Linked DNA regions of Homo sapiens: region 2 is linked to region 1. The links are contacts of gene promoters, found by promoter capture Hi-C in human tissues and cell types (Jung and others, 2019). All regions are on one chromosome and are shown on one strand. The core of a region is centred on a gene start or on the middle of the fragment in contact, and the rest is flanking DNA. Distances in the headings are between cores, read along the strand shown. Region 1 holds the start of C17orf99 (chromosome 17 open reading frame 99). Region 2 overlaps TNRC6C (trinucleotide repeat containing adaptor 6C).

What was found. Contacts are between HindIII fragments. The study calls those that stand out against the background at their distance.
Region 2: a fragment that was not itself captured here is called in contact with the fragment with the promoter of C17orf99 in region 1 in 1 of the 25 tissues and cell types used here (spleen).

Annotation. Positions count from the first base shown.
Region 1 is chr17:78,144,935-78,148,117 of GRCh38, forward strand. C17orf99 (chromosome 17 open reading frame 99) reads left to right here and starts at 1,451. Exons shown (of 5, transcript NM_001163075.2): 1 at 1,451-1,510; 2 at 1,945-1,977. The coding sequence starts at 1,474. RefSeq lists an enhancer at 2,474-2,693. The HindIII fragment of the contact is 10,351 bases long and covers 1-3,183 here.
Region 2 is chr17:78,089,184-78,092,168 of GRCh38, forward strand. It overlaps TNRC6C (trinucleotide repeat containing adaptor 6C), which reads left to right. Exons shown (of 23, transcript NM_001142640.2): 16 at 2,257-2,424. Among named protein-coding and RNA genes, the nearest start is that of TMC6, 38 kb to the right of the region's middle. The HindIII fragment of the contact is 5,688 bases long and covers 1-2,985 here.

The sequences.
Region 1 (3,183 bases), core at 201-2,700:
TGGTCAGGTGTTCACTCCTGGACGGTGCCCAGGGGCAGAGAGTGTGATTGACCGGTCAGGAGCCACAGGTGGCAGCAGCTCCCACAGGAGGCAATGGTCACCTGGTGGCAGGGGACATATTCCTGAAGGAGGCAGCCAGAAAAGGCATTCCCCACACAAAGTGTGGGAAACTGAGCCGGGCCAGAAAGTGACAGGCTGGTCCAGCAGCCCCAGGCTGAGCTTGGGCACAAAGCCGGGTGCAGTGGCCCACAGCGGAGCTGGCAGGGCCCCAGCCTCAATCCCTTGCGCCCTTACATCTCTCTGTGTTCCGGGGAATGCCTGGCCCCAGCCCTGGCCTCGGGGCTCTGGGAGGCCCTGCTCACCCCCACCCTCCCTGCATGTGCAGGAGGCTCTGTGGCTGAACTCTGCACACACACTGCCTGCGATGCAGCTGGGTCTGCTGCTGGCCAAGGCCAGCACTGGGGCCAGTTCCCTGGGGAATGACCATCCATGTGACCTCCCACCACCCTCAGTGGGGCCTGAGGGACTTCTGAAGGGCGGTGCTTGGGCACACCACGCTCCGGGACCCAGGACTCCAGGACCCATCACACTCCAGGACCAGGGGCCTCGTCGGTCTGGGGTTTCATTCTGGGGCTGGGTGCAGCCTTGGCCTCCCGGCTGTGAACCATCATGGGTGGGGCTGCCTTTTCTCAGCCCAGCAGGTCCCCAGCTGCTTGGAAAGGCCCCAGTGATTACATGAGGGTCACCTGGGTCATGTAGGACGGGCTCCTCCTCTCAAAATGAGAAGACTCACAGCCTTCATTCCCCTTGCCGCGTAGCATGGTGCTCACGGGCTCCAGAAGTTACAGCGTGGACATCTTTTTTTTTTTTTTTTTTTTTGAGATGGAATCTCACTCTGTTGCCCAGGCTGGAGTGCAGTAGCGTGATCTTGGCTCACTGCAACCTCCGCCTCCTGGGTTCAAGCAATTCTCCTGCCTCAGTCTCCCGAGTAGCTGGGATTACAGGCGCACGCCACCACGCCCGGCTGATTTTTAGTAGAGATGGAGTTTCGCCATGTTGGCCAGGCTGGTCTCGAACTCCTGACCTCAGGTGATCCGCCCATCCAGGCCTCCCAAAGTGCTGGGATTACAGGTGTGAGCCACTGTGCCCCGCGGAGCATGGACACCTTCTGCCCACCACGTGAGCCCGGGATCCTGCGGCTCAGAGGTGACTGCTGAGTCTAAGCCCTGGTCTGGCTTCAAGGTCCAAACTCCTTCCACTTCTCTGGGGATTGAGGGGGAGTTTGCTGTACCGGGCCTGCCGGGGCTCTCTGGGCCCCGCCCTGGTAGCTGAGGCCCTGGGGTGCTGCGGCCTCCAGGTTATCTCCCCACTGCAGGCACCCACCCAGGGAGCATCCCAGGGGCCTCAGGGTGGGGGAGGCCAGGAACTAGGAGGTTCTCACTGCCCGAGCAGAGGCCCTACACCCACCGAGGCATGGGGCTCCCTGGGCTGTTCTGCTTGGCCGTGCTGGGTGAGTCCACCAGGGACGTGATGGTGGGGCTGCTGCTGGGGCCTTGAGGTCTTGGGCTCAGGTGGGGGTACTGGGAGCACAGGAGAGATGAGGCCTGAAGGAAGGGCACCTCTGGAAACATGGACAGAGAGGGAAAGATCTGGGCTTGAGTCTCGGACCAGCCCCTAAACTTGCTGTATATGTGGTCCAGGGATTTCTGCACCATTCTGGGCTCACTACTTACCCATCTGCGAAATGGGCGGATGAGAGGCGATGTTGTGGGGGGAGGGGCGCAAAAGAGCTTTTGTGAGTGATGGTGCCAGCTGAGTCCTGGGGCCTCACTACCAAGAATCAGCCTGCTCCTCCCTCCTGGCTTCAGCAGGTGGGTCTCGAGGCTGTCTCTGGTCTCCCCTCCACACCAGGCCCTCTCCTTATCGCCCTTACCTCTCTTACAGCTGCCAGCAGCTTCTCCAAGGCACGGGAGGAAGGTAAGTGGCATAGCCTGCTGCAGGGAGAAGTCCCCCAGCTGGGACCCTGGTGTCAGAACCCCCATGGTGGAGGGCGCCTCGGCTGGGAAGGGAGTTACTAGTGGGGAGGTGTGTGCTGGAGGATGGCTGGACAGTTCTGGAACACTCTCTTCACCCTGCAGGGCCCTAGGAGTGATGGAGATGGGCAGGCCAAGCAGGCCAGTGTGGGGACCTCCGGGGCACACAGGCAGGGAAGTTGCTCAGCTTCCAGCCTTTGGCTGGGCTGTTTGGAGGGAAGATTCCCTGGGCAGGTGCATCCTCATCACTCTGCCCCAGGTCCCTGATCGGGAGCAGAAGCCCCCCCTGAGACCCTCACAGCTCTGCCCGGTGGGCGAGGCCCCGTGGAGGGCTGGGGAATTCTGGTGGGGCCTGGGAGGTTGGGATTCTCTGACCAGGAGGAGGGCCGTGAGAGGATGGTGAAGTTAAGGCTCCCCCAGGGGCCTGACATACACGAGGCTGCCTTCCTTATAGAGGCAGGTGGGGAGTGGAGAGTGTCTGGGACCCAGCTGGGTACAGGACCAGGGAGGAGGGGACGCTGGGGAAGGTCCCTGACAGCCCCTAGCCTGGCCTGCTTCCTCATCTTTGCCTGCTCCATCTTTCTGCCTGCACTTTCTTGCCCCATCCTTCCCTCCCCTCCCCTCATGTCCATTAAGGTGAGGATGGACAGTCACCTCCCTATATTGTCCCAACTAACCCTTGCCCCTTGTTGCTAGGCCATCAGGTTACAGAGCAGGGCCTTCCCCCTCTATTTTGCTAAAGGGCAGGTACAGGGTAATGATGACGCCATTCTCACTTGAATGAGGCCCAGGTTGAACCATTATTTCCTCATTTGCTTTAAAAACGGATACATTGTTGGTGTGGCTGCTAAAAAGAGAGCAGGCAGCTGGGGCTCCGGGAAGTACCTGTGCAGGGCAGTTCCGCCTCCCCCTCTTGGCTGGCTCCCGACTTCTCTGATTCTTGCCAACCAAGTCCTGCTAACTAAACTCCTAAGAGACTGACTGATAAATCATTTATTCATTCAACAAATACTTGAGCACCTGTTTGGTTGCAGGCACAATTCCAGGCCCTGAGAATGTGGCAAGGCACTGAAACAAACCCCTCCTGTATCTTACATTCTAGTGGGGGTTGGGGGGACAGATGATAATAAAAATAAGAACATTCAGTGGC
Region 2 (2,985 bases), core at 89-2,588, 56 kb before region 1:
TCTCAAACTCCTGACCTCAAGTGATCCGCTCACCTAAGCCTCCCAAAGTGTTGGGATTACAGGCGTGAGCCACCGTGCCCGACCACTTATCTTTACTCTTAAGGATTTTTTCTCTTAGTACAAGTTAAAGAATTCATGCAGTGAATCTTTGAAATTAGTTGAAAAATAATTTGGATAATATTTTATAATATTCACAGTAAAGTTATAAATGTATTAAAAGCAAATAACTAATAAAGTCTAGGAAACTTTGGTTGTAAAATTGCCTATCTTGTTGGCTCTCAGCATTTCTCTGCAGCAGCACCTATGTTGAAGAGCCTGTTAGACACTCATCAATTCATGTAAAGAAACCAGCAGCCCATGGTCAGTAGTGGGGGCTCCTAGCTACCTTCCTTCCCTCATGTTCAGCCTGTCGTTGTTATTCTCAGTCTTTTGCCACCTGGAGTTCGCCATCTAGATAGGAAGAGCAGGCATATAAATGGGAAAAAATAACCTTGATACCAGTGTCATGTGATTCTTACAGGGCTCTAGAGAAGGAAAAGTTCACTTTCACTTTGAGTGGTGAAAGAAAAATCAGAGAGTAGGATTAAGCTTGAACCTCAAATGATTGGATAGGATTACAGTAAATAAAGAGGAAGCCTTTCCAAATAAAGGGGAAGCCTCACGTAGCACAGAAGAAAGAGGCCTGGCTTGTTTCAGGGGCCCATTTTGCAAGGGCCAGGCCAGTCTAGCTGACTTTCCCAGAGGGGAAAGTTGGGAGAGATGGGTTGGCGCCAAATTGTGAAATTTGGAGCATTCTGAAGGCCAGGTTGAAGCCCTGACATTGTTGCCACCTTACCTGGCTAGATCTGTACAAGCTGAAACGAAAAGAACCCACACAGCAGAGATTGCAAGTAGGCAGCCCTGTGGCACTGATGGGCTTGCAAAGGCGTTTTGTTAGGTCTGCGAAGTGTGTGTGTGCATGTGCATAGGTGTGTGTTAATGCCAACATTCAAAAATTGGGGAAAGTGGCTTCTGGCTTCTCTTAAAAATGGCTATAGTGGGTCTATGTTCCAGGTAGCAATAGGTGGTTGGCCCCAGTAGCACCTGTTTATTTAGACAGGACAGACACTCTCTGGTTTGCCACAGTCCCCATGAAGCCCACTTCTTCATGTGCATGGCCCACCTGGCTCCTATGGGCATTTGAATTTGCAGCCTCTGAAATAAAGGTAAGAACCAGAATGTTCAGCACCTGGCTAAGTAGTAGAGGCTCACTGTGCTTACGTACCGTGTGGCGTAGTACTTACGGTAAGGACCTATGGGGTATGTGTATGTGGTAAGGGGAACTGCAGCTGGAAATACAAGGGGAGGGGGGCGCTTGTGCTGGTTATTCCCTTCCAAACAAGCAGTCTGTCCTGCTCCAAACTAGTGTCCTCATCAGAAACTCTTTACTTCAACCTTCTTTTCATTGTCCTCCTCATCATCTTTCTTTATTAACCTAGCTTAGTGCAGGTCCTGGACAAATAACCAGGTACCTGCTTTTAGCTATAAGGAATGAGCCCAGAAGCCTCAGCTCACCATCCCAGCTGGGGGCAGATGGCAGCACCCCCGCTGTCAAATAGTTCAGTTCCTTAAAAGTAGTTTGATACTTAATTCACAGACTCTTTCAGAGCAGACTTTTGTAAAGGAAACTCACTAAAGGTAGAACTGAATTATCCTATCAGTCTGTTTCATAGGTGGTACTTTAGAGTTCTGGAAAAGTGTTTTTGACCTGATGAGTTTCCGTAAGATATCCCAAAACAAAGAAAGATTTTCCTAATAGTTTGGACTTTTTCTATTTTCCTGTGGACTCTGAGAAGCCTCAGGACCATGTTTATTCAGCACTGAAACAAGTAAAATGAAGAGAATTGTGGGCCTTACTTAATCAAAGACTATTCACATTTTCACCTTAATTTAGGAATAATATTCCTAGAAATACATGTTGTTATGACGATAAGTAGTATTTTTTCACCAGCACTAAAAGTTATAGTTAAAATATTTTGCTGTATCCCAGCTACTTGGGAGGCTGAGGCAGGAGAATCGCTTGAACCTGGGAGGCGGAGGTTGCAATGAGCCAAGATTGTGCCATTGCACTCCAGCCTGGGCATCAAGAGCAAGACTCCGTCTCAAAAAAAAAAAAAAATTTGCTGTAAGCGAAGACTGAAATAGCTTCTATAGGAGAGCTTTAGAATGAAGTCATTTAGAGGAGCAGGCGAATCCTAACCGCATCTCTCTCTTTAGCTGGACTGAACCCAAACATGAATGTCAACAGCATGGACATGACCGGTGGCTTGTCGGTGAAGGACCCATCCCAGTCCCAGTCACGCCTCCCCCAGTGGACGCACCCCAACTCCATGGATAACTTGCCCAGTGCCGCTTCCCCCCTGGAGCAGAACCCTAGCAAGCATGGTACGTCTGAGCTAGGATGCCTGTGGTGGGATCACTGCTGGCTTATTAATCGATCGTCCTGTTGTATAGCATGGCCATTCTATACTTTTCTAAGAATTGAGCACTGAAAGTTGGATTTAAAATAACCCATTCCATTATAGTGCATATAAGATCTCAGCTAGTCACTGATCAAACTTCTTAAAACCCAACCATTAGATCTTAGCTACAAACTTAGAAATAATTTGAAAACCCCAGAGCAGCAAAGAATCTAGGTCATAGCCTGTGTACTTTTTTTATGTATCTATATTCATCAACAAAAACTTGAGTCTGCTGAAATGTTTTCAATAAAATGGTAAAACATAAATAGAAAATCAAATATACAGTATGTATGGGAACTGCAGCTGTAAATACTAGGGTGCATTTCTGTTGGTTATTCCCCTCCATCCAAGCAGTCTGTCTTACTCCAAACTGGTGTCCCCATCGGGAACTCTTTACTGATGGACACACGAGTAAGGTGGAAGCAAAAATGATAACCATAGGAGGTAATCTCACTCTCAAGCATTAAATTTAACTCTGAACTTC